Regions from separate parts of the Homo sapiens genome. Here regions 1 and 2 are each linked to region 3. The links are contacts of gene promoters, found by promoter capture Hi-C in human tissues and cell types (Jung and others, 2019). All regions are on one chromosome and are shown on one strand. Each heading gives the region's core, a stretch centred on a gene start or on the middle of the fragment in contact. The rest is flanking DNA. Distances are from core to core; before and after follow the strand shown. Region 1 holds the start of PXT1 (peroxisomal testis enriched protein 1). Region 2 holds the start of ETV7 (ETS variant transcription factor 7). Region 3 holds the start of MAPK13 (mitogen-activated protein kinase 13).

Region 1 (2,700 bases), core at 13-2,512, 310 kb before region 3:
GTACTGCAACCTTATTACTAAGGAACAATCTTCTGTTTCAGAACTATGGCCTAGGAATTGGGGTTTCAGGTGGGGGCCTTGAGCGGAAGTCCTCTGACTCTGGATTCATCACATCCGACAGACACTACTACAACACTTTGTTTTGAAGACCATTAAAAAACTACCTCAACTTCTCGCACAGCGAACAGGAACAAAACTAAGGACTCTGGGACATATTTTCATAAGCTGGTTAAACAGTTCCTTCACAGCCTTGTTTATCATGTTAGTTTGTTCACTAGATTCTTATTTAAAAATAAATCTCTTCAACTGAGGAATTTTCAGAAAGAATCACAAACTCCAAAATAGAAGAGTTTTCTCATAGTGCAGAACTGGGCTTCTAAACCTGAAGACACTGCTATAAAAAGCAAAGTTTTATTTAAAAGAAAATTGCTGGTTAAGGCTTTCCCCAGCTCTTTTGCACTCAGAGCCACGGATGAAAGCTGGCAATTTGCGGGTGGCAGGGAAGGAAGACGCGGAAACAGGGCTGAAAAGACCGAGCAAAATGCGCTCGGCTCCAGAGTTCAGGAGGAAGTCCCCACCAACTACCTAATTTTTAATGGAGCCAATTAATTGCCAGAAAAACCGCGTCTGCAAATGTTTTGCCAGTCAACACTCCAGGTTCTCGCCATTCCTCTCCGGCGGGATGAACCACCCGAGGCCTGCAAAAAGCAGTCAAGCAGTCAAGTTACACTTCAGCTGTGCCCACCACCTGGGCGCAGCGTCGCCTCCCTCCCCAGGATCACCAGACTCTGCCCTCCGCGCGGAAACAGGAGCCCATCAAGCCGCTGCCCACAGGTTCCTCGCGCCCAGCTCAGCCCCGCGGCCTTTCGACTCGGGGGTCCGAACCGCCGCCGCGTCCGGAGGAGACGCCCCCTCGGCCACAAAGGGAAGACTCGGGCCACGCCCGCCGCCACACTCTCCCTGCCCGGTCTTCGCGCCCGAAACCGTACCGCGCCGCCACTTACTCGTCGCTCCCCGCCGCGCTGTCCCGCTCGGGGCTGGAATCCGCCCGGGAGGCGCGCGCAGGCCGCGCAGCCAGAAGCCGCAGCCGGGACCGGCTGTGCCGCAGCGGCGCGCGCCCCCCGCCCCGGACCGCGCGGCCACGCGGCTGAGTCACCCAGCGCTTCACGTTAAGAGTCCCCTCCGCGCGTGGCACGCCGGGAAGGCCGTGTCTGGGGACCCCGTCCGGGGCCGCACCGTAAATGGGTGTCGCCTTTCCTCCAGTCCACTCTGCACCCAACCTCAGCGGGCGCACTTTTCTGAGTTGCGCATACCCTCTCAATTATTAAAGGTTGCAGACGGAAAAGTTAGTAGTTTTCGGAATTGTAGAATACGCTCGTGCAGCGCCAGGACGGCTAATGCTTACCCGAAAATGTGGAACCCTGATCTCCCCATGCGTGGAGCGAGGTTGGAGGTAGCGTAGTAAGAATACTGGAGTTGCTTAAACGCATTTGCTCGAAAGTCACTACCCTGGATATACATTCTGGCCAAAAGAAAGGGGGAAAAACTCCACATTTTTCTCAAATACTGAGTTTCATGAAGGTACCTGCTATTACAAAGGTGTATTACAAATTTTAAATCAACCGGAAGCAAGTTACTGGGAAAACTGTGTTATGAGTAAAAGATTTCAGCATTCAAAAAACATCTATATATGGTCCATGTCCTATGAACCAAATGCTGGAAAACCCAAAAGGAAGTTCTTATTGTCACGGTTTCTAGTGGCTTTTGTACTTTTAAAAATTACACTAGGCCGGGCTTGGTGGCTCACGCCTGTAATCCTTGCACTTTGGGAGGCCGAGGCGGGCAGATCACCTGAGGTTGGGCATTCCAGACCAGCCTGGCCAACATGATGAAACCCTGTCTCTGCTAAAAATACAAAAATTAGCCGGGCGTGGTGGTGGGCGCCTATAACCCTAGCTGTTTGGGAGGCTGAGGCAGGAGAATCACTTGAACCCAGGAGGCAACTGGGAGGTTGCAGTGAAGTTCCCTCTCAAATATATATATATATGTCTATATATACTAATTAAATATACTGATTATGCAAACTATTTGTAAATTGTTGAAAGCTCTATAAACTAATAATAGCACAAATTTTAAAATTCGAAGTCGATTCTCCTTTTCCTTACAAGAGACTCTCTGAAAACTAATTTGGAATTGGATTAGAATTGGTGTTGAAGTGGAAGGAATGTAAGAAAATAGTTTGACTCAGTAGGTTTCACACGGTTAACGGATACTTGTATAGCAAATTTGTTTTATCAGGGTCAAAAAATTTAATTTTCAAAACTGAAGACATAAATTTTTTCATTATAATTTGGTCTTAGAGGCCTAGAGGGTCATTTTCCATTTCTATTCTCCCTCGTTTATGACTATAAAGTATGCAGGACTGTATTGTGTTTATCTCAACATGGACTAGGCTGTGAGGCTGCACTCGTCATCTGTAAGTCAGTCTCACGTCCCCATGGTGACTCAGCTTCCCTGCTGCTTGCGTCAGTGGCTCTGCCCTCCCAGCACTTCCGGGCTGGCAGAAGAGCTAGATTGGAGAATCCTGTAAGGGCTCTCCTTTGCCTCTGCCAGAAGTGAGTGGCCTTTTCACTTCTGCTGACGTTTCACTGTCCTGAACTAGTCACCAGGCTCAACCTGACTGACTCTAAGAAGGCTGTG
Region 2 (2,726 bases), core at 2-2,501, 260 kb before region 3:
TTTTCTTTCTCTGCTGCCCAGGCTGGAGTGCAGTGGCACAGTCACGGCTCACTGCAGCCTCCAACTCTCAGGCTCAAGCGATCTTCCATCCTCAGCCTCCTGAATAGCTGGGGCTACAGGTGTAGCCCCACCATGCCCGGCTAATTTTTTAAATTTTCAGTAAAGACAGGATCTCACCATGTTGTTCAGACTGGTGTCCAACTCCTGGGCTCAAGCGATCCTCCCACCTTGGCATCCCAAAGTGCTGGGATTACAGGCATGAGCCACTGCACCCTGGGCATCTTTTTGTATATTCAGGAGCCATTTGGCATTTCCTTTTATGTGGACTGTTTATTCATATCCTTTGCTCATTTTTTTTTCCTACTGGGTTTCTGGCCTTGTTCTTACTGGTTTCTTATTGCTGGCCTAGAGCTTGTGATGATATACCAGTGCTAAGCCTACTTTGTAACAGCGTCTACACCCTCAGATTTTCAGCAGAAGGTTGTTAATGCTTTTCTTTCCTTTTCTTCGGTGTCTTCTGGTTTGTTTTTATGCGCACAACCTCTCTTGAGACAGGGGGAGCTGAGACAGATGGAAAGGGTGATGGGTGGGCAGGCACCAACCCCGGAGCACCCAGAGGCCCAGGAAAAGGTGTCAGTCGGGATCTCCGAGTAGTCTGGCCCTGCTCAGGAGAGCACAGCCGCTCTGATGGTGGTGCGACGGTTCCGGACCTGTGGGGCCTCAGCGGGGCCAAACGGCAGGCCGAGACAGTATCGGGGCCGGGAAGGTCACTCACCCCTAAAGGGAGAGGCACCATGCGAGGCCCCTTCCTATCCTATGTGCGGAGACTCACAGGGTCCTTCCTGGTCCTGGGCTCGGGACCGTGAGAGACGCAGTTGGTTCCGAGTTCAGGACTAGGGGTCCCCTTAGATCCTCAGATCCTGCAGAATCCCGGCTCTGCCCCAGTGGGAGCCAAGGCCAGGTCGCCAGAGGGACTGTCCGCCGGCTGGAGGCTGTGTGCAGGACCCACGCCTCCCAGGCTAGCGAGCGGGCAGCGCCCCGGTGCTGCGCTCCCACGGGGCCGGCCCCTGCCCTGCCCTGCCCTGCTCCTAGCCCGCAGCGGCGCAAGTGGAACCGCATCCCGCTCTTTCGTTTTCGTTTCCCGGAAGGATAGCGATTACCGGAGCGCCTCGCGCGCCTGCCCGCCTGCGGAGGACCCGGGCGCACACGCCTTGGCGCTTCTCGAAAGAGATTTCCTCCCACGCGACCTTCCAGTTCTCGGAGCCAGGTTAGGGGTTTGGCGGAGGAGGACTGCGGGGCGCGGGCCTAGGGCCCCAGCAGCCACAGCCAGGGGAGCGCTCAAGACAGAAAGCCGGTGGCTTCCTCACCTCCACCTGTAATGCAGGTAAGAGCCTGGCGGCTGAACACGCAGCGCGCACGCAGAGCCACCTGCTCCCGCATCCTTTCCTCACCACCTAGATTTCCAAACCTATTTTATCAGACCTTTTACCTGGCGGGAATCTCTCTTTCCAACACATTCCTAAACCTCACATCCATCCCTCACTCACTTCCCCTTCCACCTCCAGACGCGGGTCACCGCCCCTGACTCTCTCGGTGTCATACACAGCTCTGAAGGCATCACGCACAGCCCCTGCGGGCCCTTTCCGCAGCCCCCTTACCACTGGTCGCCCCTACACCAACCAGATGTGAGGTCTTTGGAAGTTCGTGCGCCAGCCAGGTCCTCACAGCTGGTGAACGCATTCTCGCAGGGAGCCCCTCTTTAGCAGCCTCTCCCCACTCGCCGGTTTTCTAGGTGCCTCGAGACTGCCCCCAGAGCTGGCGCCCCGTCCCACTCCAAGGCCTTTCTCCACTCCCCTCTCGCCAGGACCCATACCCATTATCAGACCCTTCCCTGGCCTCCATGCTGAAACCCAGGAGTCTGATCCTCAGCAGCTCCGTGGCTGGCGTTTCCCAGGCAGTTACAGCCTCGGAATTCCCCGCTCCTCTTACTTGGATGAGGACAGAGGAGTAGACAAAGAGCCTCCTGCAAGCCTCCTTGGCAAGTCCGAGGCAAGTCCTGTGCCTTGAGCCCCTTCTCCAGCAAGGCAAGCTTCCCTTTCCCCACCAGGAGGCAACCCCTGAGGTCTGATTACTTGGGAAACAGCACCAAAGGGGGACCGGCTGGAAATGAAGTGAGAACGACCCGGAAAGGTGTTGAATCCCCTTTCGCAGCAGCCAAGGCTTCTGGAGTTTGCTTTGCTGGCTCCGATCCAAATTCTCTCTCGGCAGATATCTCTCCTCGGATCCCAAGAGATGAATGTAAAGCTTTTGACAATCCTAGAGTGAAAAATGACTTGATGGAGCTGGTTTCACTTTTCCTTTCCGTGCTGTGGCAGCCTGTGGCTGGGCATGAGCCCGAAGGAGCTTCCTATTCCTACAAAATCCTGCCACTTTCTTCATTTTCTCATCTGAATGGATGAACCCCGTCATCTCTGGGGGCCATGCTGATTGTTGAATTGTAAAGATACAGGCTTCCCGTGGTGAGACCTTAGGATTCAGAAATGTATCCTTATCCTTTCTTTTTCTCTTTTGAAAATAGTGTTTGTTTGTTCTGAGACGGAGTCTTGCTCTCTTGCCCAGGCTGGAGTGCAGTGGCGTGATCTTGGCTCACTCCAACTTCCGCTTCCCGGGTTCAAGTGATTCTCCTGCCTCAGCCTCCTGAGTAGCTGGGATTACAGGCGCCGGTC
Region 3 (2,785 bases), core at 244-2,743:
GCCCCTGGTTTTCCCAGCTGCTTCTATCAGACAAGACAATCTGATGGTCATGTGCTCAGACCGGGAGCCTCGCTGCCGAGATTGAAACCCCAGCTCTGCTACTGACTAACCATCTAATCTGTGAGCCTTGCTGTGCTTTAGTTTCCTGTCTGTGACATGGGGGCAGTAGTACTCATATATCATGAGGACTAGACAAGTTAGTGTATGCAGAGCTCTTAGAACATAGGAAGTGCTCAATATGTGTATATTGCTATTGTTATCAGGGTCACGTGGACACAACGCTAACTAGGATTCTAGTCCCAGCTGGCCACAAGCTCTCAGACATGGAACCAATTACAAAGTTCCCCTGTGCCAATTTCCTCTGTAGGATAACACAGTCTGTACCTCACAAAGTGCATTCTGCCAAAAATACCCTTTGACCTCTTCCTGGAAAGTGGGCAGGGAAGGTCTCGGCACCCCCTCCTTTCAATAGTGAGGCGAGAGGCACCGTCAGGGGAGCAGGGAGGAGACTGTCCCGAGCTCTCCATACCGGGAGGCCCCGCCTGCGCCTGCCCCTGACTCCCCAGGGCAGCCCCCACCCCCTCCCCGGGGCAGCCACCACCTACGTTCTCATGCTGCATGTGCTTCAGCAGCAGCAGCTCCCGGTAGGCGCGCTTGGCGAAGATCTCGGACTGAAAGGGTCGGCTCAGCTTCTTGATGGCCACCTTCTCCCCTGACCGCTTGTCGATGGCCGAGCTGTCGGGCACAGGCCGGTCAGCAGGCGAGGCTCTCCTCCTGGGCCGTATCTCCCAGACCGCCCTGACCCCTCCCACTGGGCAGCTGGGCTGAGAGGGGACTAGGCCCACCACCTAGAATATGGGGGAGCCGCGGGACGCAGGGCAGGGAGTAGGAAGCCAGGCAGGAGCTGAGAGAGGGGCACAGCGCCAGGGGCAGCAACGTCTCATTGCGACGGGATCCACGGCAGGGCGGGAGTCTCACTCTGTCTGCAACTTGGCGAGCCACCTCCCCCTCTTGGGGCCTCGGTGTACTCGTCTGTAACAGTGAGGATCTGCCCGATGAACTCTGGGGTCTTGCAAGTGTACAGTCCTGGAGAACCAGGCCCAGTCCCAACTCAACCCCCAGAGACCTCACTCAGCCACTCGGTGAGAAAAGGGAGATGGCCGCTGGGTGGCCCCGGGGAGGGCGCTGGGCCTTGAGGTCCGCGGTCAAGGTGGCGCTGGCGAGGGGCCAGCCCAGGGCGGGCTGGGCGGAAAGGGGAGAGCCTGGCGCCCGCCCCCCGCCCCCCAGCGGCCCAGGGGTCTCACCACACGGAGCCATAGGCCCCGCTGCCGACGTGCGTCGGGGACACGTAGGTCTTGGGCAGCTCCCAGGCTGTCTTGTTGACGTCCTGCTTGTAGAAGCCCTTTTTCCGGATGAGGCTCATCCCGGGCACCCGATCTCGGCGGCCCCAGCGTGGCGGCTGCGTTCGCGGCCCAACGGGCTCCCAGCGCCCCGACCCCCGCTGCGCCCGCCCCGCGCCGCCCGCTCCTCCCCCGCGCGAGGGCGGGGGCCCCGGGCTGCTACGCTCCCACCTGCCGGCTCGCCCAGGTGCGCCGGGGCCGCCACGCCCGGGCCTGTCCAGCCCTGCGCTCCCGCGCTTCCGCCCGGCCCGACGGAGCCACTGCGGCAGGTGCGGCCCAGGCACGGGGTCGGGGCTGCCCAGCGGGACCCCGGTGCCTCCCAGCCGAGCGCGGGCCAGCGGCGGGGCTGGTGGGTCCAAGCAGGAGCGGGGAGGCAGTGCTTCCCAGTTCCCTCCAGCCCCGGTCTCCGTAGGAAGAGCTCCCTGTGACTGTGAACACACAGGAAAGCAGAACAAAACCCCACAACCTCTTCATTATGGAAAATGTCAAACATGCAGGAAAGAATTGAACAGAGTAAGCCAGCGCTTCTCACACTTCAGTGTGCTCAGGAATCCCCTGGGCATTTTATTTGATTAAAATACAGATCCTGACTCAGTAGGTTTGGGGTGGAGCCGAGATTCTGCATTTCTAGCCAGCTCCCAGGTCTGAGGCTTCTGAACCACATCTGATAGGAGGTTCTAATGAACCCCCGTGACCCCAATTCCCCAGCAACCACAACTCATAATCAATTTTATTTCATCCACATTCCTCTCCCACCATCGTTTTGAAGCAAAACCCAGGCGTCATATCATTTTATTCATAAATATTTTTGTATCTCTAAAACGTAAGGATTTTTAAAAGTACGTATCCACAATACTATATATATATATTTTTTGAGACTCTGTCGGAGTGCAGTTGCCATCTCGGCTCACTGCAACCTCCGCCTCCCGGGTTCAAGCAATTCTCTGCCTCCGCCTCCCGATTAGCTAGGATTGTAGGTGCCTGCCACCAAACCCGGCTAATTTTTGTATTTTTAATAGAGATGGGGTTTCACCATCTTGGCCAGGCTGGTCTTGAACTCCTGACCTCGTGAACCACCCGCCTCGGCCTCCGAAAGTGTTGGGATTACAGGCGTGAGCCACCGCGCCTGGCCCACAATACATTCTTAAACCTAAAATTAATAGCACTAATTCTATAATACCAAATATCCACGCAGGTTCAAATGTGCAGGATTTTTGTTTGTTTTTGACATGGAGTCTCACTCTATTGCCTAGGCTGGAGTGCAGTGGCGCCATCTCAGCTCACTGCAACCTCCGCCTCCCAGGTTCAAGCAATTCTCTTGCCTCAGCCTCCTGAGTAGCTGGGACTACAGGTGCACACCACCACTCCTAGCTAATTTTTGTATT

What was found. Contacts are between HindIII fragments. The study calls those that stand out against the background at their distance.
Region 1: a contact is called between the fragment with the promoter of PXT1 here and the fragment with the promoter of MAPK13 in region 3, in 1 of the 25 tissues and cell types used here (thymus).
Region 2: the fragment with the promoter of ETV7 here is called in contact with the fragment with the promoter of MAPK13 in region 3 in 2 of the 25 tissues and cell types used here (heart left ventricle and ovary).

What each region holds. Positions count from the first base shown.
Region 1 is chr6:36,441,416-36,444,115 of GRCh38, reverse strand. PXT1 (peroxisomal testis enriched protein 1) reads left to right here and starts at 1,262. Exons shown (of 5, transcript NM_152990.4): 1 at 1,262-1,581. It overlaps KCTD20 (potassium channel tetramerization domain containing 20), which reads right to left and starts at 1,116. Exons shown (of 8, transcript NM_173562.5): 1 at 1,005-1,116. RefSeq lists enhancers at 1-58, 664-763, 2,248-2,700 and silencers at 924-1,213, 2,372-2,441. The HindIII fragment of the contact is 9,351 bases long and covers 1-2,700 here.
Region 2 is chr6:36,386,194-36,388,919 of GRCh38, reverse strand. ETV7 (ETS variant transcription factor 7) reads left to right here and starts at 1,251. Exons shown (of 8, transcript NM_016135.4): 1 at 1,251-1,384. The coding sequence starts at 1,379. ETV7-AS1 (ETV7 and PTX1 antisense RNA 1) reads right to left here and starts at 2,300. Exons shown (of 2, transcript XR_926758.3): 1 at 1,990-2,300. RefSeq lists a silencer at 1,021-1,230 and an enhancer at 1,357-2,180. The HindIII fragment of the contact is 5,079 bases long and covers 1-2,669 here.
Region 3 is chr6:36,129,221-36,132,005 of GRCh38, reverse strand. It overlaps MAPK13 (mitogen-activated protein kinase 13), which reads right to left and starts at 1,493. Exons shown (of 12, transcript NM_002754.5): 1 at 1,305-1,493; 2 at 606-735. The coding sequence starts at 1,423. RefSeq lists enhancers at 1-17, 728-847, 739-1,342 and silencers at 488-597, 1,238-1,307, 1,348-1,597. The HindIII fragment of the contact is 28,110 bases long and covers 1-2,785 here.